Regions from separate parts of the Homo sapiens genome. Here regions 1, 2, 3, 5, 6 and 7 are each linked to region 4. The links are contacts of gene promoters, found by promoter capture Hi-C in blood cells and fetal thymus (Javierre and others, 2016). All regions are on one chromosome and are shown on one strand. Each heading gives the region's core, a stretch centred on a gene start or on the middle of the fragment in contact. The rest is flanking DNA. Distances are from core to core; before and after follow the strand shown.

Region 1 (2,700 bases), core at 1-2,500, 4.0 Mb before region 4:
TTTTCGTGGCTCCCTCTGGAGTCCCGACTTGCTGGGACACCGTGGCTGGGGTAGGTGCGGCTGACGGCTGTTTCCCACCCCCAGGCCTGCATTGATGAGAACCTGGAGGTGGTGCGCTTCTTGGTGGAGCAGGGCGCCACTGTGAACCAGGCAGACAACGAGGGCTGGACGCCACTGCACGTGGCCGCCTCCTGTGGCTACCTAGATATCGCCAGGTGAGGCAAGGGAGGGCCGGGCAGGACCTGGTCGGGGTGGGGGCCTGGACCCTCAGCCCTGACCAGCCCCCACCCCCAGGTACCTCCTGAGCCACGGGGCCAACATCGCCGCCGTCAACAGTGACGGGGACCTGCCCCTGGACCTGGCCGAGTCGGACGCCATGGAGGGGCTGCTGAAGGCGGAGATCGCCCGCCGAGGTGGGCTCTGGTGTGCTGTGTGTGGGGTGGGGGACACCTCCTCACCCGTGGTCTCCAGGCTGAGAGCTTTAGAGGCGGCCTGGGCACCGAGGCTGACCCTGCTTCCTAGGATTGTCTTTCTTTGTGCCTCAGTTTCCTCACCTGTGAAATGGGGGTGTAGGGGCCTGCCTCCAGGATTGCTTGGAGCCCAGCACACGCACAGGATGAGAACTCAAACCCCTACCAACTGGGACTGTCAATCCCCCTGAGTAACTGAGGGGATTGGAATGCCGGGGCGGGGTGGGTGGGTGGAGGGACTCACCCAGGAGTGCGTTAGGTAGGATTGCTGGAACCCTGCCGCAGGTCTTTCTGGGAGGGGATGCGTTTACTTGGGGGGGAGTAGGGGCATGCAGGGGTTGCCAGGGACTGGTCTCCCTGTCCTCTGAGACTCATCGTACCCCAGGAGCCTTCATATGGGGTCCAGGAGCCCCTGAAACTGTGTCTGGCCAGGTTCATTTTTCTAGGGAAGGGGTGTTGCTTCTAGCAGGTGTGTGATGGCCACACAGGATCCCTGGGTCCCCAGCATGTCTTCTAAAGTCCTGGGCTTGCCTCCCAGCTCTGCCTGTGACTGGTGACTCCAGGCACGTCCCTGAAGCTTGCTTCCCTGATTTCCTAAAACAGGACCACTGGTGCCGCTTCATGGGGTGGTTGTCAGGGTCTGGCTGGGTTGGAGTGGAAGGGTGTGAGCATGGTTCCCGGCAGACTCCAGGGGACCGTGTGGAAGGAAAGGGAGACTGACGAGGAAATGAGATACCGGCAGCCTCCGAGACTTCTGACGCGGCTGTCCTGACGGGGCCGCTGGCCAGGCTGAAAGGATAGGATTCCGCGTGGGTTCAGGGGTCCACGAGAGCCATGCGGGAGGACTAGCTAGTGGGACACGTGACGGCGGAGATCTGAGGTTCGGGAGCCCCTCTTTGGTTGAAATGGGGAGTGGGTCAAATCAGCCCTGGACCTGGATTCTGTCTCCTTCCTCCTCCAACTTTTTATTTTGGGAAAGCTTCAGATTTACAGAAAAGTTGAAGCAATAGCATGTGACTACCCATATGACTTTCACTAAGATTCGCCAGTGCTTTTTCTTTTTTGTTTTTGTTTTTTAGACAGCTTTTTGAGATGTAATTCACCTACCCTACAATTCACCCAAAGTGCACACTTCAGTGCTTTTTAGTCTATTCACGGGGTCGGGCATTTATGACCACATTGGTTGTAGAACATTTTCATCATCCCCCAACGAAACCCTGCAACCGCTTAGCCATCACCCCCAACCATGCACCCCCCCCTCCCCCCCACCCCACGAAGCCCTCTCTGCCTTCTGTCTGTGGATTTGCTGTTTTGTACACTTCACATAAAGGGAATCATACAGTATAGAATCATCAGCTTTTAACTTTTTGATAGATTTGTGTTCCTTCTCTCTGTCCCTCCCTTGCGATCTCTTCCCAGGTATAGACATAAACACATTTTTTCCTATCCTTTCTCCTCCTGTTTTTTTCCCTCCATCTCTCCCTTCCTTTCTTACCACCCCACCCCTGCCTTTCCATTCCTGAGCCTTTTTTTTTTTTTTGAAACAGAGTTTCACTTTTTGCCCAGGCTGGAGTGCAATGGCATGATTTCGGCTCACTGCAACCTCCACCTCCTGGGTTCAAGCGATTCTCCTGCCTCAGCTTCTGGGTAGCTGAGATTACAGGCGTGAGCCAGCATGCCCAGCTAATTTTGCATTTTTAATAGAGATGGGGTTTCACCATGTTGACCAGGCTGGTCTCCAACTCCTGACCTCAGGCGATCTGCTGGCCTCGGCCTCGCAAAGTGTTGGGATTACAGGCGTGAGCCCGGCCATTCTGAGACTGTGTTGCAGGCATTGTACATCTTCGCCTGATGCACAGCAGGTATCTCCTGCCACAAGGAAAACCTCCTGCAGAACCACAGTAGGGATGCAACACGCTACCCCCTGTGTTGACCTTGATGCTACACTCTCACCCACCGCACCAACCTTGATGCTACACTCTCACCCACCGCACCAACCTTGATGCTACACTCTCACCCACCGCACCAACCTTGATGCTACACTCTCACCCACCGCACCAACCTTGATGCTACACTCTCACCCACCGCACCAACCTTGATGCTACACTCTCACCCACTGCACCAACCTTGATGCTACACTGTTGCCTGCGTTTCTCCTTGACATTCTTTGTAGCCTCTCCCGCTCTGGTTCAGGGCCCAGCTAGGGATCCAGATCTGGGTGATTTAGGCT
Region 2 (2,700 bases), core at 154-2,653, 4.5 Mb before region 4:
GGTGGGCGGATCACCTGAGGTCAGGAGTTCGAGACCAGCCTGGCCAACATGGTGAGACCCTGTATATACTAAAAATACAAAAATTAGCCGGGCATGGTGGCGGGCACCTGTAATCCCAGCTACTCAAGAGGCTGAGGCAGGAGAATCGCTTGAGCCCGGGAGGCAGAGGTTGCAGTGAGCCATGATCATGCCACTGCACTCCAGCCTGGGCGACAGAGTGAGACTCCATCTCAAAAAAAAAAAAATTATTTTAAAATCAAAAGAAAAGAAGGGAAATATAGCTTTGGAAGACCAAGGCAGAAGGATCGCTTAAGGCTAGGAGTTCAAGACCAGCCTGGGCAAGGCAAGACAGCAAGATCCCCATCTCTATAAAAGAAGAAGAAAGGAGGAGGAGGAGATAATTCAGCCTAAGTGGTGTTTATCTTTATTTTATACCAACATATCACAAAATATAATTTCATATATATTTATGAATGAAATGATCATGCTTAGGATCATGTTTAAGTATCTCCTATCCTGCCCTTTCAAGAAAACTATTTAAAGATGTTTCCAAACTCTTCCATGTCTCTTCTCAGTGGTTTGTCACAATGCTTCTACAGTGCTACACAAAAGAAAGAGAAATGGTCCAGAGAAGTGTAGTGACTTATCCAAGGTGATACCACCAGAATGACTAAACGGGGCAGCTAAGAAGAGCCCCGTCCTTGATGCTGCTGAAAACCCCGCGTTTTTGAGCTCTTTCCTCCCAAACATAACATCAGCTTGCGGGTTTTTGCGTCCTCCCAGGACCACCTGTGTTGCTGTTTACTGAATATTTTTCTCCACACTGCCTTTTTTTTTTTTTTTTTTGACAGAGTCTCTGTCACTCAGGCTGCATGCAGTGGCGAGATCATGGCTCACTGCAGCCTCGACCTCCCGGCCTCAAGCGATCCTCCCACCTCAGCCTCCCGAGTAGCTGAGAATACAGGCATGAGCCACCGCACCCGGCCTACACCGACGTTTATAAACTTGGCGTCATTACGTTGTCATGAGCAGTGCAGAGGTAATCACAAAAACGTTTACCGTGGAAACAAAGCAAAGCTTCTTCAGTTCTGCTGAGGTTCCCCTGACAGCCAGAGCCTCGAGTCGGCCTGCGTTGGTTTAGAAGGAACGTTCGGATTTGTTCCCAGGGTGTTACAGGCATCCTAGCGCCACACAGAGCGTACCCTCGGAGGGACAGACAGGTAATTAGAGAGGGAACAACTCACATTCTCCCGGGCTCAGCCGCCACGCCCCGCCCCGCCACGCCCCCTGCTGCACCACGCCCCCTCGCAGCCCCGCACTGCGCCTGCGCAGTAGCTCTTACGCCAGTTCGAGCCCCACCCCCTTTCAGAGCGAACATTGGCCTTGGGGGCGGGGCTTGGGCACAAGATGGCCGCTGCGCGCCCAGAGGCCCAGAGTCGGAGCTCACCGACTCCGGAGTCGCGATCCCAGGAGCCACTGGACCTGGTGCGGGCAAGGAAGGGGCCTGGGCGTGGGGCTCGAGGTGGGAGGAGGTCGTAGTGTGGGGGGCGGGTCCGGGGCGTGGCCTATGAGGGGGTGGGCGAGGGAGGTATTTAGTGCTATGGCCCTGGGGGTGGGGCTTCTTGTGGTTTCGCGAGGGGCGGGGCAGGGGAGGAGACTATGTCATGGTGGGCGGGGTGGGGGAGGGACCTATGGGTGGTGGGCGGGGCCTGGATGGGGGCGGAGTCTGAGGACGGTGTTGTCTTGTGGGACGGGTTTGGGTCCAGGGAAGGGGGCTTACCAGGGATAATTTGCATAATTTGGGTGGAGCCTTGTAAGGGGCGGGGCCTCATAAATTCTAGGGCTAATTCTAGGGTAGAAGGTTGGGAAGGTGACCCTGAAAAACGTGGGGGATTATGATTGGAGCACCTATGTCGGGGTAGGGGATAATTCTTCAAGGGTCTTAGTGATGCTTCTCGAATGCCCAAGGGAGAATTTGGGGGTAGAAGTGGGTGGTCTAGGTGACTTTGGAACTTCCTCCACGTTACCCCACTCAGAATTAGACTAATTGAGGACATTCATTCATTCAACAAACATTTACTGAGCTCCTACTTCGGCTCTGTAAATAGAGAAGTGACCAAGACAGACAAGGGTTGTGTTCTTTTGGAGCCTGCAGTCTCTTGAGAGGAGAGAGACAATAAAGGAGAGTTACTGTGATATGTTCTATAAAGGAAATAAAAATTGAGCCAATTTCTATAAATTGAGCCAAGAGTAGGGGTGGGGCAGCTAAATTTAGACGAGAGAAGTCAGCTGGGTGCCGGCTTATGTTTAAGCTGGGGTCAGAGAGATAAGTGGAGCTACATCGCCACAGATATTATAGTGACGATTTGGGATAAGTCATTTGGAGCCACTGGAGGGTTTTGAGTGCGAAAAATGACTTGATCTGATTTACATTTTCAAAAGACCTTCAGGCTATTCCTGGGAGGTGGGTTACAAGCCAGCAGAAATAGGAACAGAGATGCCCTTGGGTTTTTCAATTTTGGAGGCGCCAAGTGATGGGGCTTTAACTAGGGTGGAGGACAAAAGGTGGGATCCATGATATATTTTGGACAGGAGAGGAAATGTTGATGAGGATACAACAGAATCCTGGAGGATGGGCCGGGCGCGGCGGCTCACGCCTGCAATCCCAGCACTTTAGGAGGCAGAGCCAGAAGGATCTCT
Region 3 (2,706 bases), core at 1-2,500, 3.1 Mb before region 4:
AAAAATACCACTCGTCTCTCCCCTGATGACAGAAGTTTCTGGTAAAGATGTGTGTTCACTACTGTAGAATAGTACTGAGAGGCCAGGGACCACTAGCTGGTAGGCACTCCCAAGTGAGTGAGCCTCCCAGGGAAGGCTGCATGTTTAGAGCAGGGGAAAGAGTCAAGGATGAGAGACCCCCACACACCAATTGTAAAGCGCTGATCCTGTTTATTTGGCAGGAAAACGAGACAATCCAGCAGCCCAGGAGGGACAGGTGGACTTAATCCTCCTCCTCGTCGTCTCCAGCCCCAGCCCCACCCTGGCCCTTCTTGGCATTCTTCCTCTTCACGCGGCCCGGGCGGCCACCCCCGTAGGGAGAGCGCAGAGAGAAGTCGATGTGCTTCTGGGAATCCAGGCGGACAATGAAGGACGGGATGTTCACCACCTGCTTGCGGACCCTGGAAGCAGCGACAAGGTGAGGTGGACTGGAGGAGAAACGGACGCTAACCCCAGCTACCGCACCACTCTTTCCTCTCCACCCACCCCGTGAGGCCGCCACGGCTGCAGACACCAAGGCGCTGCAGGAAGGGTGCACCTGATCCTACGTGCGCCCTCCGGGGTTTTAGGGTATCACCTTAATCCCCAAAAATGCTTCAGATGACTTTCTCAACCCCATTTTATAGGAGAAATCCGAAAGTATCCCACCTAAGACCACAAAGCAAATGAGATGGCCATGTGAGAGCCCCCAAGTTCCGAGTCTGAAATATCGTGAACCCCACACCTGACACTGAGCTGTATTACCACGTGCAGCAGCAATGCCCACAATAACACAGCAACCCGAGGCTACGTCTCCGACGAAAGCATTGACACACAAGGCTCTGCCTACGGCTCACAGGGTTAGTGAAGGGCTGGGGCGAAGATTCTAAACGCAAACATCTTGCCCTCTTTCTGTACAGCTCCTCCCCCTCAATGGTGCCACATTACAGAAAGGGCACACTGAGTACCCAGAACGCAGTCATGGATCGGGGTCTGGAATCAACTTCACAAGCGGGCCAGGAGACAGCTGAACCCACCACCCAAGCGAGGTGAGGCTGGTTCTCTCCCTCCACTGGGGACACCAAGAGCTGTTACCTGTCCAGCTGCCCACATGCCTGGCAGAGGCCTTCACAAGGTGTACGGCTAGAGCCGCAGTGACCCTTGCGCTGGGCTATTGGGGCAAGAGGCTGCCCCAGCTCCCTGGTGAGCTGTGTGCAAGGGTGAATCTGTACCCTCTGGGTGAGTTCACACCCATCACCTCCGAGGGCTGCATAGGAGATAGGGACAGCAGGCTTAGTGAGGGCAACCATCAGAGGGGCAGGTGGAGGAAGATTCAGGTGCCCATCCGAGGTGGTACCTGATATGGCGCTGGCGGATCAGCACGCGAGCGTGGTGGATGGACTTGGCCAAGCCCAGCTTGAAGACCTGGGTCTGCAGGCGTCTCTCTAAGAAATCCTCTATCTTCAGGCCCAGGATGTAATCCAGCTTCATCTTGCCCTCATCCAGCACCCCAATGCGGACCAGCCGCCGCAGCAGGGCGTTGCCTGGGAAGAGTGGGAGGAAACACTGATTCCGCCTTCTGACCTCAGGCTTCTTGGGTTCAAATCCTGGCTCCGCCTCTTGGTAGCTCCATGCCGCGGCGGTGAGGCACAAGTAGTACAGCGCCATCACCGTGACCCATGTCACTGTCAAAACCACCCTACGGGCTGGGAGTGGTGGCTCACACCTGTAATCCCAGCACTTTGGGAGTCCGAGACGGATCACTTGAGGTCAGGAGTTTGAGAGACCAGCCCGGCCAACATGGCGAAAGCCCGTCTCCACTAAGATTACGAAAAATTAGCCAGGCCGTTGGCGCACTGCCTGTAATCCCAGCTATTCAGGAGGCTGAGGAAGGAAAACTGCTTGAACCCAGGAGGCGGAGGTTGCAGTGACCTGAGATGGGGCCACTGCACTCCAGCCTGGGCGACAGAGTGAGGCCCTGTCACAAAACAAAACAATACAAAAAACCAAACTACCCTATGGTTGTCAGGTCATCATTCATAGTAAACTGCAGATGACAGGAGGGCAAAATACACCTGCCTCCTCATCTGAGAGCATACATCCCTCGCTCCACATTCTTAGCAAGAGTAAAGGAAATCACCTCCTTACAAGGACTCAGTCTGCAAAAGACCAAATGCAGCTGCTATTAAGCTACTACCACCGTAACAAAGCACAGTGCTGAAGAGTTCATATCCTCAGCCCAGACAGCTCTTCTGATTAAGCAGATGTGAGATTGAATCACATTCCGTGCCATAAATAGCAGTATCTACATCTTTTAAGGAGAGAAAAGTAATTTCTAACACTAGAATTTTTCCAGCTAGGTACATGTCATTCATTTTACTATTCTGTACAAAATTTTCCACCAAAAATATATCTAGTATGTATATAACCTAACAATGCACTGCATAAAATATCCAACAGATGCCCTACTACACCTTTCTTCCAACCCCAGGCTCAGGACGGCTTGCTCCTTACCCTGTCCAAAGCCATGGCTTCTAGCTAATACTCTGGACTGCCCTTGCCCACAGCCCCAGGGCCCTGGGGGCAAACGCCATCCCCTAGGCTCCCGCTCACTGCTATAATCCCACACGCCTTCAGCAAATCAACTGCCCCTTGACTGGGGTAAACACCTCAACCTTTTTTCCTTAT
Region 4 (2,700 bases), core at 64-2,563:
AAAGGAAGGCATCATGGTTTCCTGTTATGGGGGAAAAAAATGGGCTACAGGGTGCATGGGGTTCCTTCTCACGTCATCACCGGCCGTAGACCTACACATCCTGGGGCTCTCTGCACATCTCCACATCTCAGTCTAAGGCTCTGGTGGTCCCTTAATCTAGAGGATTTTTTTTTTTTTTTTGAGACAGAGTCTCACTCTGTGGCCAGGCTGGAGTGCAGTGGCGCGATCTCGGCTCACTGCAACCTCTGCCTTCTGGGTTCAAGCCATTCTCCTGCCTCAGCCTCCCGAGTAGCTGGGACTACAGGCGCGCACCACTACGCCCAGCTAATTTTTGTATTTTTAGTAGAGATGAGGTTTCACCATGTTGGCCAGGATGGTCTCCATCTTTTGACCTCGTGATCCACCCGCCTCGGCCTCCCAAAGTGCTGGGATTACAGGTGTAAGCCACCGCGCCGTCTAGAGGAATTTTGAGCCTCAGTTTTTTCGAGGACCTAGGTTTGGGGACCTGGATCTCAAGGGTCTCAGATATCTGAGTCCTTAAACTCCTTGTGCCCCGGTATTTGAGTCACCGGGGTCTTCAAGACCCTTGGGCCTTGTGGGGAGGGTGGAGGCCTCCAGATCCCTGTGTCTAGGGTGCAGACGGTTGTCTCCAGGTCTACTGGTTCTCTCAGGTGCTTTGGTGCCAGGGGTCTGCGTTTTTAACCCCCTTAGTCTCAAGGGTCTGAGTCTCTGAGCCTCTGGGCTCCTGGGTTAGGTGAGAAGGGTCTTTGGATCCTTCTGTTTAGAGTCTGGGTCTCCAGCACGCGCATCACGACAGCCCCCGCGTGCGCGCGGAGTTCCACTCCAATCCTCGAAGTCTGCTCTACGCATGCGCTATCTGCGCCTTTTACACTAGCGACCAACCCCTGCAGTTCCACCTTCAATTCCCACCCGCAACCCCGCCTCAAAGGGCAGAAATCATAGGCCCTGTAATCCCCTTAAAATCCTATAATAATCCCACAAAATCAGTTAATCAGAATACAACTACTTCGCCCATCCAGCAACCTGCCGGGTGACAGCGCGCTGCCATGACAACAGTACACGCAGCTCCGCCGCTCCCTGCGGCCGCGCGCAGGCGCAGAAAGTAAACGCGGGGGGAGGGGGAGCAGTGTATTTTGGGAGCGGCAGAAAGAGCAATGCAAGTGTTTCTGGGAGTTGTAGGCCAAGCGGGACCCCGGAGCCGTAGGCGCATCCAGCGGAAGTGTCGCATGGGCTTCTGGGAGTTCTAGGCAAGAAAGCCCCAAGACCTTATGGGAGTGGTAGTCTCGGAGTCACTTCCGGGCCAGGCTTCCGCGTGGTGGGCAGTGTGGGCATCCCAGCACTGAGTTCTGCCCGGGTGAGTATTTCCTCCTGCGGTGGGTCGGCATGTGGACTCCGGCTCTTTGTTGCGGTGCCGTGGGAGGGTTGAGGGTCTCTTCGAGCGTAAGGCCTCTGTGATTTCCCAGCGCCCGTGTCCCTGAGGCCTTGTAGCCAGGATTCCCACTTTGAACGCTGCGGTCCGGCCTGTCTCTTACCGGGCCACTCCCTTCCCCAAGACAGGATAAGACCATCTGCTTGCCCCCGCCCCTATGTTACTATCTGCCTGTCCCCGCCCCCATGCCACACATTATCTGTCCTTTTGACAAGGCTGCAATCCAGAGGCATCCCTGGGGTCCGCGGCCTCTCTTCTGGGAGCACTTATTATTCCCTCATCCTACAGATACTTACTGAGCACCGACTCTGCGCAGGGCGGCGGGAGCGAGGGCACCAGACCAACCCTGTCCCTGCCTTGAAGCAGAGAGACAGACCTGTCACCAGTGACAGCTAGTCAGGATCAGGGCAGCTCTGAGGGCCCTGGTGGAGGCGCTCGACTCAGTGACGAGGGTCCATAAAGTCTTTGAGGGAAGACGCTTAACATGCATGTCAAACCTGACGTGGCCAAATGGAATTCCTGGTCTTCTCACCTCACAAAATGGCCCCACCGTCCCTCCAATGCTCAGGCCAGAACCTCAAAGTTACCCTTCATCACTTTCTCTCGTCGTTGCCCCAGTCCCCACTCCAATCAGTCTTATACAAGTCCTGTGGGCTCCACCTTCAAAATAGATCCAAAATTTCACTTCTTCCCACCTCTACTGCCAGCACTCCTGTCTAGTGTGCTGACCTCCAGCCTTCTGTCCTTGTCCCTGACAACCAACAGTCCTCCCCACACAGCAGCCAAACGAATCCCACTTTTTTTATTTGAGACAAGGTCTCACTCTATCACCCACGCTGGAGTGCACTGGTGCGATCATGGCTCACTGCAGCCTTGACCTCCTGGGCTCAAGTGATCCTCCTGCCTTGGCTTCCTGAGTAGCTGGTACTACAGGCCTGTGCCACCAGGTGCAGCTAATTTATTTATTTATTTTTTTAGAGATGGGGTCTCGCTATGTTGACCAGTCTAGGAATCCTTTTAAAACATGCCAGATCATACCACTTTACTGTTCAAAAACCTCCCAAGGCTCCCATCTCCTCCTGAATAAACCTAAAATTCCACATCATGGCCTATGAGGCTCTGCTAACTTGTGCAGCCTTGTCCCCTGCGAGCGTCTCCCTTCCTCAGGACGTGGACCCCCCAGGACTGGGTGACTGTAGATTTAGGGGGTGAGGAGAGATGAGTCCAGGGTGACGTTACGTCCTGTCCTG
Region 5 (2,700 bases), core at 151-2,650, 3.4 Mb before region 4:
GGAAAGCATGGCACAAGTGCTGAGCCAGAGGCTGGAAGCCGAGGGGCTGAGTACACTACAGTCTCCAGGGCAGCTGCACCCCCACCTCACCGTGGCCAAGGTGCCCCATGGTTCCCAGGTCCACCTCCCCAAGCTGGAGTTCACCCTCAGCCAGGAAGTGGGGTGCCAGCCCCTGCAGACACTCTGGCTGTGCCGTATAGGGAGGACAGGGGGGCCTTTCCAGCCCCTGGCTGAGATCCCCCTGGAGTGACACCCCCAGACCTCTGGAGGAGACAATGGATGCAAACAGCCCACACAGGAAAGACAAAGCAGGAGCGTGCACGCTCTCTCTTTCTCTCTTTAATTTTGGTTTCTCTCAAGCTTCCAAATGGTGCTCAGTGCTCCAAGGAAAGGAAGGAAGGAAGGAAAAGGAGGGGAGAGGAGGGGAAGGGGAGGCAGAGGAGGAACATCTGGAAAAAAAGCAGCCTGACAGTCCAGCTGTTTGCAAACTCATAGCACATCCTCCAGTTACATGGCAGAAGAGGGAGGGAGGGAGGGCCAAAAAGAAAAGGGAGAGGAGGAAGAAAAATAACTTAAATAAACACACACACAAAGAAAAGAGAAGGCAACATGACGTGAGCTGGTGATCCATGAAGGCAGGGAGGGAGGGGAACCGTTTTACCTGTGCTGAACCAAGGGAAGAATGCGGAGAGGGAGGGAGGGAAAGGGGAAAAAAAAATCAGAAGAAACACTGGGGGCAGAGGGAGGAGGGGACACGGAGACAACTTTATACAACTTGAGACGAGGCGGCCCGGCCGGCGTGTCCTCAGTGCGGTGTGGCGGCGGAGGATCTGGTGCTGGTGGTGCTGGCACTTCAGGGTGGGGGGCCGAGGACGGGCACAGTCTCTAAGCAGCTCCCCCACCCCAAACACGGAGGCCCCAAGGGGCTGGGAACAAGAGTCTGTGGCGAAGCAGGTGAGGCAGCGGGCGGTGGGCGGGCTTGCTGGGTGCCCCCGCCGCAGGCGGGCACGGGCTGGACGGCCTGTCTTCTTTCCACTGGCCCCCCGGCATGGGATGGGCCAGGGCGCCGGGTCGGGTACCGGAGTGCAAGCTCGAAAGAGAGAGAGAGAAAACACTGAGACAGCATTAGTGGAGTGAAAGGCGGACACAGATGAGCCTGCAGACCATGCCCCCAACCCTCCGCTGCCCATCCCCTCCTCCCCAATCCCATCCCTCTGAGGCAAAAAATAAAAACGTAGAAAAATCTCTGTACAGACTCCCCGGTGGGAAAACGGGGGCAGGGATGGTGGCTCTTCCTGGAGCGCACTCCCCACAAATAAATTTACAACCCAAGTCCACGGCTCAAAAACAGAATCCGCAAAGGCAGCGCTGGGGGCTGCAGCCCCTGCCCCCGCCCCTCCTCGCTGGGTGCTCAGAAGGCTGACAGCTGCGCCAGGCTGAGGCGGCAGTCGATGCTGGAGTTGTCCGGGCCCGTGTAGGCCAGGCCCAGGGGCTCTAGGAAGGCCCGGCAGGCGGCCTCGCCCTCGAAGGCCAGCTCGGCCTGCAGGTAGGAGACTGGCAGCGCAGGGCGGAAGCTATGGAGACAAGAGGAGAAGGTGATGAGGCGGGCGGGCGGGAGGGCAGGGGAGGGCCCCACGAGCGGGGAGGCCCCCCCATTCGGGTGCCCACAGGATTTCCTCAGCACAGTGCCTGCTGGCTCCCCACCCGCCTCCCAGCCTCCCCACCTCAGGGGCTCGGGGGGGGCCCGGGGGGGGTTAGTGACCCCAGTCCCCTGTGCCCCCCTCACCCTCACTTACCTGTGCGGGGGCCAGGGAGGAGCGGGGACGGGCAGGGAAGGGCCCAGCGGGCTCCTCCGCTGGCTGAGGGGCAGGGACCAGATGGAGGGAGCAGCACGTGGCAGGGGATGGGGATGGCGGGGCTGCCAGGGCCACCGTGGGGACCCAGCCCTCGCTGCCTCCCCTGCCCTGCGTTACAGTGTCTGGGAAGCCAGGCGCAGGGGTGCCAGCTAGCACTCACCACTACACACTGAAAGCAGTCACTTCCGGCTGCTGCTAAAACACACTACTGACTGAGCATCTAGCACGAGCCAGGTCCTCAGAGCTCCCTGAACCCTCTTCCACAGGGTGCAGCCCTACCCTTTCCACACACACAGGAACCCAGGCACCGAGTGAGGGGCACTAAGTCCTAGAACCCGCTTCTGCTCCAAAGCCAGAGCTTTCCTGGAAGCCCTGGGATCAGAGCCCACTCCGTCTCCCAGTCTCAGCTGGCAGGGCAGGGTCAGCCTCCTTGGGGGGAAGGTGCTGACACAATGAGGTCAATGACAGACTGGCGCCCCACCCACGAGGGGCACTCATGGCTATGTTCCCAACCAAGGCCAATTAGGTATCAATTAACAAGGACACTCGCCCAACCACACACCCCTGTGTAGCACAGAAGCTTGAGAGCCACCATTCATGGGGCCCATCATGGCAGCAGACTAAGCAGCCTCCTGCCTCCCCTTCCTTCTAACTTCCCAAGCTGGTCATGGAGCTCTGTGCACGGCACCCCACATCCTCGTCTGCTCCTGTGACTCCTACCCTGGCTCAGCCTCTCCCTGAAGTTGGCTTGACCCACACTAGATTCCAGAATGAGTCTCCAAACCTCCAGGCTGACAGTCCCTCCCTAGCTCCAAACTATGCTGTGACCATGACCTCACACGGA
Region 6 (2,785 bases), core at 1-2,500, 3.1 Mb before region 4:
ACAGTGGCCTCAGCTCTCCGTTCTCGACTATTGCCGAAGTGAGCCGAAGTTTGTGGCCCCGCTTCCGGAGAACTCAAGCTCCCGATTGTGCCCGAAGGAACCCGAAGGGAGACCCCGCCTCATTCCTCACGCCGAGCTCCAGACCCCGCCTCCTTTCCAGAGCCCGTCTGTTCCCCTTCGGGTCCAAAGCTTTTGGCTCCTCCTTGTTCCGAGCCCGAAGGCCCGCCCCTTCACGTACTCGGAGCTCGGATCCCAGTGTGGACCTGGACTCGAATCCCGTTGCCGACTCGCGCTCTCGGCTTCTGCTCCGGGGCTTCTTCCCTGCCCGCCCGGGGCCCTGACCGTGGCTTCTTCCCCGGCCTGATCTGCGCAGCCCGGCGGGCGCCCAGAAGGAGCAGGCGGCGCGGGGGCGCGCTGGGCGGGGGAGGCGTGGCCGGAGCTGCGGCGGCAAGCGGGCTGGGACTGCTCGGCCGCCTCCTGCCCGGCGAGCAGCTCAGGTGGGCCAGGGTGGCGGCGCCCAGTGGCGAGGCGAGGTTACACGGCGGCAGGGTCTCTGCGGGCTGGCGGGTGCGGGGCGGCCCCGGAGGCGCGTTGGAACTCGGGGCTGGCGCAACCGCCTGTGGCTCTGCCGGGGATGCGCTGGGGTGCGCGGGACGGGTTGGGGCTGGGCCTGGGCCTGGGCCTGGGGAGGGGAGGGTGTTCGATCCCCGGGTTCTCAGTAGGAGAGGGGTGTGGAGCTCCGAAGGAGGTGCAGGTTGGAGACCCGGGCTCCTCTGGGTGGTCTCGAAGGAGAAGGGCTGGGGGGTCCGGATATCTGGTTTCACAAGGGCCGGGGGATGGGGGATCCAAAGAGGGGGTCTGGGTTCCTGGATCCTCGCTGGAAGAGGGGGCTCGGAGGTCTAGATTCCTGGGCTGTCGAAGAGGAAGGGTCCGGGAGGGGTGCCGTTTCTGGGTTTTTAAAAGAGGGGCGTCTTCAAATCTGGGTCCCCAGTATGGGTGCGGGGAGTAGCTTTGATTTCTGCGTTCGCAAAGGAGGGGCTTGGGTGCTGGGAGATCCCCACACTTTCCTGGGTTCTCCAAGGACAGGAGAGCTGGAGGCCTGTGCGCTCAAAGGAGGGGCTGGGGGTGGATTCCTGTCTCCTCCAAGGAGGAAGGGGCTGGAGTCTGGGTTGCTAGGTTCTCAAAGGAGAGGAGCTGAGGCTCATACTCCATCATCCTCAAAAACTGGGGTCTAGAAGGCTGGGTTCCTGGATCCTCGAAGAGGGAGGAGGCAGGGGGCCTGGATTCCTGGGTTCTCACTGTGAATCTCTGCCCCTCCCCCAGACCATGTCGCCTGAAGAATGGACGTATCTAGTGGTTCTTCTTATCTCCATCCCCATCGGCTTCCTCTTTAAGAAAGCCGGTGAGTCAGGCTCCCTCCCCAGTGGAAAATAAAGGGGGGGGACCCTCTGGAAGGTTCCAGGCTTATGCTGTCCCTTCCCCCTGCAGGTCCTGGGCTGAAGAGATGGGGAGCAGCCGCTGTGGGCCTGGGGCTCACCCTGTTCACCTGTGGCCCCCACACTTTGCATTCTCTGGTCACCATCCTCGGGACCTGGGCCCTCATTCAGGCCCAGCCCTGGTGAGAATTTGGTGGAGGGAGGAGAGGGAGAGGAGGGGAGAGGGGGAAGCAACCTGTTTCCTCTTTGAGTCTTTTTCAGCTTCTGCCTCATGTCTAGCTGTCTCTTGTTGATCAGCTCATTTCTCTGTTTCATGTTTGTTTGTTTGTCTTTCTTTCTTTCTTTCTTTCTTTCTTTCTTTCTTTCTTTCTTTCTTTCTTTCTGAGATGGAGTTTCGCTCCTGTTGCCCAGGCTGCAGTTCAGTGGCACGATCTTGGCTCACTGCAACCTCCACCTCCCGGGTTCAAGCGATTCTCTTGCCTCAGCCTCCCAAGTAGCTGGGATTACAGGCATGCTCCACCATGCCTGGCTAATCTTGAATTTTTAATAGAGCTGGGGTTTCTCCATGTTGGTCAGGCTGATCTCGAACTCCTGACCTTGTGATCTGCCCACCTCAGCCTTCCAAAGTGCTGGGATTACAGGCGTGAGCCACCGCATCCGGCCTTCATCTGCTTTTCTTTCTCCCCTGCCTTCTGCGTCTGGTCCCTGTGTGTTTGTCCCAGTCCGCTACATCCATGTCATGGAGAGAGGTGGACAGTGTGTCTGCTGGCCTGGCCACCGTTCATATTCATTCATATCCACCTCTCTCTTCTTGAGCCCTGGACCTCGGAAATAAAGAAAAAGTGGAGGATTGCAGGGTCTTCACCCGAAGCTTCTCTTAACCTCATTCTCTGTTGGTGTGTGTTTCTATGTGGCTGAGCCTCTTCTCCCACTGTTTCAATCATACTCATTCGGTCCCTACATCCACCCTCCTGTCCTCTCTGCCCTTCTGTGTTTCTGTCTCTAAACGAATGGGGAGAGCTGGGGGAGGATTGGTGGCTGGACTCGTGGAGTGAGTGGCCAAGGCCGAGACTTCTGTGCCCAACACAGTGCGCCTCCTGCTTTTGCCCAGCTCCTGCCACGCCCTGGCTCTGGCCTGGACTTTCTCCTATCTCCTGTTCTTCCGAGCCCTCAGCCTCCTGGGCCTGCCCACTCCCACGCCCTTCACCAATGCCGTCCAGCTGCTGCTGACGCTGAAGGTCAGACTCGGGGCTTGCCACTCCCCTCCAGCCTCCCTGTGGGCCCCTTCACCTCCCACTTTACCTCCCCCTTCAGTGGCTCCCCGGGATTTTACCTCCAACACACCCTGG
Region 7 (2,700 bases), core at 41-2,540, 3.3 Mb before region 4:
GGGGGGTCAAGTCCAGTCTCTGTGACTCCATCCTGGTCGCAGTGGAAGCCCCCATAGGTAACATTCTAAAAATAACACTGGATTTTCCTTTTGTAAAGTTTGGGTAAAATGCCTTTTTTTTTTTTTTTTTTTTTTTTGAGACGGAGTCTTGCTCTGTCGCCCAGGCTGGAGTGCAGTGGCGCGATCTCGGCTCACTGCAAGCTCCGCATCCCGGGTTCAGGTGATTCTCCTGCCTCAGCCTCCTGAGTAGCTGGGATTGCAGGCGCCCGCCACCATGCCCGGCTAATTTTTGTGTTTAGTAGAGATGGGGTTTCACCGTGTTGGCCAGGCTGGTCTCAAACTCCTGACCTCAGGTGATCGCCTGCCCCAGCCTCCCACAGTGCTGGGATTACAGGCGTGAGCCAGGGTGCCCGGCCAACTTCTTGTTGAGAGATCACCCCCAGGCTCATTGGCATGGGAGATCAAGCAGCTGAGTCTCAAGGTACTTTGCAGCCGCCCAACAGCCAGCGGATGCCTGTGCTTGGGAAATGGGCTCAGGGGCACTAGAGGGCAGTGTTTGAGAGGAAAGAAGTCAGCATAGCAGCAGGGCCGGGCCTGGGGCAGACAGCCCACATGGTTAGGAAAAAGTGAGTGAACGCATGTGGCCCCCAGAACCCCTCCCTGAAATTGCAGTTGATTTTTATTCCCACCGTCAGGCCCACATATCTAAAGCTTCCTCTGAACGCTCCTTGCAGTACACAAAATAGAAATGATTGACAGGCACAGAGCAGCAGCAGGCCCCACGCTGTACACCAGCATCTGGCACTGTGGGTCACCAAGCACCAACTCGATCCCCTCGGAGCCAGGTGTGTGTTGAGATTCAGGATTTTTCAGTTGCAAAGGCAATATGATCTCTACTCCACAGGGCACACGGCACCCTCAGTGCTCAGCACAGCAGTGTGCAGCAGCCTGGTTAACTTTTCTGCAGGGAAGTATGTGAACGTTCACACCAAGCGTGTCAGTCATGTCTGTAAGTCATCTCCCACCAACACAGGTCAGGTTTTCCTGCCCAATGAGCTTGGGGATGGCTTGACTTTGGAGCTCTTTGGATCTGTGGATTTTGGAATTTTGGATTTCTGATACCCGTTTGATCAAAGAGGCAACCGAGGTCTAACGGGTCAAGTGACTTTCCCATATCCGTGAAGGTCATGAAAAGCAGGGCCAGGATGGTGGCCTGGGGTGCCTTGAATGATAAGCTGGGCCCTTCACTGTGCAGGCCCCTCTCCTTCAGTCCACTCTGCCACTGCTGTCTGCCACACCCTGCTCTGATAGCTCCTCTCTGCCAGGCTTTTCCCTCACATCCTCAACTCAGCCAAGAGCTGGTTTCTTCCAGAGAGCCCTGCTGTGCAGTCAGTTATTGGACTTCTCTTTTTGTGCATGTTTGTTTTCAGGGTTTAGCTGATCAAAGTGGTATCGTTGTAACAGGCAGCTCTAAATAGAAGTCTTCAGAAGCCTGTGTGTCTTTTTCTGTAAATCAATTCCCAAAAGCAGGATTGTTGGGGCATGGGGTGTATGCAGTTTTGATCTGATCACATACAAGCGCATTTTTTTTTTTTTTCAAGGGATGGTGGCAGCTCACAGCCTCAGGAGAAGTGTTTTGAGTGCCTGTTCCTCTAGGTCCTCGCCCGCCCAGGACATCACCACTCTTGTTAATTTCATTGTGTCTAGGTAGTGAAAAAGTGTAGTTTCTCATTCTTTCAAATTGCATTTCCCAATTATTAGAGTTTGAATCTTTTTGTCTGTTTACTGATGTTGGAATTTTTATTGAGTATTCAACTCAATTGATTACTTTTAAATGGGTTGTCTTTTTCTTAGTTTATGAAAGCTTTTGTAGATTATATCTTTTAAGAATAACATTTCTGCATCATAACTGTTAACATACACACACACACACACACACACACACACACACACACACGCACGCACACACTCACTGTTCCCCAGTCTGTCAATTTGCCATTTGACTTTACGGTATGTTTTTCAATCTATAATTTGCCAACTAAGCTATCTTTTCCTTTCTGGTTTTATGATCTCCTGCTTAAACTCCTCCCTCCCCATTTTCCCTACCCAGATACATGACATGCAGACAATATACAAATATTCTCCTAATTTCTCTGGTTTGTTTTGTTTTGTTTTGTTTTTTTCTGAGATGGAGTCTCACTTGATCTCCCAGGCTGGAGTACAGTGGTGCAACCTCCACCTCCCGGGTTCAAGCAATTCTCCTGCCTCAGCCTCCCGAGTAGCTGGGCTTACAGACCTGTGCCACCATGCCCAGCTAATTTTTTTTTTCTTTAAGTAGAGACGGGGTTTCACCATGTTGGCCACTCTGCTCTCAAACTCCTGGCCTCAAGGGATCCACCCACCTTGGCCTCTCAAAATGCTGGGATTACAGTCATGAGCCACCGCAGCCAGCCTCTCTCTGTTTTTTGTCTTTTTTTTTTTTTTTTTTTAAGAGGCAGGGTCTTGGCCGGGCGCGGTGGCTCACGCCTGTATTCCCAGCACTTTGGGAGGCCGAGACGGGCGGATCACGAGGTCAGGAGATCGAGACCATCTTGGCTAACACGGTGAAACCCCGTTTCTACTAAAAATACAAAAAATTAGCCGGACGTGTTGGCGGGCGCCTGTAGTCCCAGCTACTTGGGAGGCTGAGGCAGGAGAATG

What was found. The method cuts DNA at HindIII sites, captures the fragments that hold promoters and counts their contacts. A CHiCAGO score of 5 or more calls a contact.
Region 1: a fragment that was not itself captured here is called in contact with the fragment with the promoter of CTU1 in region 4 in 1 of 17 cell types (activated CD4 T cells); the score reaches 6.6 in activated CD4 T cells.
Region 2: a contact is called between the fragment with the promoter of ZNF784 here and the fragment with the promoter of CTU1 in region 4, in 3 of 17 cell types (total CD4 T cells, naive CD8 T cells and activated CD4 T cells). The highest score is 5.5, in total CD4 T cells.
Region 3: a contact is called between a fragment that was not itself captured here and the fragment with the promoter of CTU1 in region 4, in 2 of 17 cell types (non-activated CD4 T cells and activated CD4 T cells). The highest score is 5.6, in non-activated CD4 T cells.
Region 5: a contact is called between a fragment that was not itself captured here and the fragment with the promoter of CTU1 in region 4, in 1 of 17 cell types (naive CD4 T cells). The highest score is 5.4, in naive CD4 T cells.
Region 6: a fragment that was not itself captured here is called in contact with the fragment with the promoter of CTU1 in region 4 in 1 of 17 cell types (naive CD4 T cells); the score reaches 5.1 in naive CD4 T cells.
Region 7: a fragment that was not itself captured here is called in contact with the fragment with the promoter of CTU1 in region 4 in 2 of 17 cell types (naive CD8 T cells and naive CD4 T cells); the score reaches 6.9 in naive CD8 T cells.

The regions. Positions count from the first base shown.
Region 1 is chr19:55,110,180-55,112,879 of GRCh38, reverse strand. It overlaps PPP1R12C (protein phosphatase 1 regulatory subunit 12C), which reads left to right. Exons shown (of 22, transcript NM_017607.4): 2 at 85-215; 3 at 295-413. Among named protein-coding and RNA genes, the nearest start is that of PPP1R12C, 6.1 kb to the left of the region's middle. The HindIII fragment of the contact is 402 bases long and covers 1,050-1,451 here.
Region 2 is chr19:55,623,269-55,625,968 of GRCh38, reverse strand. ZNF784 (zinc finger protein 784) reads left to right here and starts at 1,403. Exons shown (of 2, transcript NM_203374.2): 1 at 1,403-1,485. The coding sequence starts at 1,408. RefSeq lists enhancers at 1,023-1,172, 923-1,422 and silencers at 1,243-1,302, 1,373-1,422. The HindIII fragment of the contact is 2,172 bases long and covers 1,080-2,700 here.
Region 3 is chr19:54,205,132-54,207,837 of GRCh38, reverse strand. It overlaps RPS9 (ribosomal protein S9), which reads right to left. Exons shown (of 5, transcript NM_001013.4): 4 at 1,376-1,562; 5 at 191-440. The coding sequence ends at 263. Among named protein-coding and RNA genes, the nearest start is that of RPS9, 5.6 kb to the right of the region's middle. RefSeq lists enhancers at 1-488, 489-996, 1,504-2,012. The HindIII fragment of the contact is 3,025 bases long and covers 1-2,706 here.
Region 4 is chr19:51,107,022-51,109,721 of GRCh38, reverse strand. CTU1 (cytosolic thiouridylase subunit 1) reads left to right here and starts at 1,313. Exons shown (of 3, transcript NM_145232.4): 1 at 1,313-1,375. RefSeq lists an enhancer at 1,018-1,347. The HindIII fragment of the contact is 4,633 bases long and covers 1-2,700 here.
Region 5 is chr19:54,459,640-54,462,339 of GRCh38, reverse strand. LENG8 (leukocyte receptor cluster member 8) reads right to left here. Exons shown (of 16, transcript NM_052925.4): 16 at 324-1,574. The coding sequence ends at 1,412. It overlaps LENG9 (leukocyte receptor cluster member 9), which reads left to right. Exons shown (of 1, transcript NM_001301782.2): 1 at 1-608. The coding sequence ends at 250. Among named protein-coding and RNA genes, the nearest start is that of LENG9, 2.8 kb to the left of the region's middle. The HindIII fragment of the contact is 2,076 bases long and covers 363-2,438 here.
Region 6 is chr19:54,187,050-54,189,834 of GRCh38, reverse strand. MBOAT7 (membrane bound acylglycerophosphatidylinositol O-acyltransferase MBOAT7) reads left to right here and starts at 255. Exons shown (of 8, transcript NM_024298.5): 1 at 255-497; 2 at 1,324-1,402; 3 at 1,489-1,618; 4 at 2,548-2,674. The coding sequence starts at 1,327. It also overlaps a transcript of TSEN34 not described here. RefSeq lists enhancers at 1-241, 242-927. The HindIII fragment of the contact is 2,118 bases long and covers 192-2,309 here.
Region 7 is chr19:54,437,458-54,440,157 of GRCh38, reverse strand. No RefSeq gene overlaps it. Among named protein-coding and RNA genes, the nearest start is that of LENG8-AS1, 10 kb to the left of the region's middle. The HindIII fragment of the contact is 1,153 bases long and covers 714-1,866 here.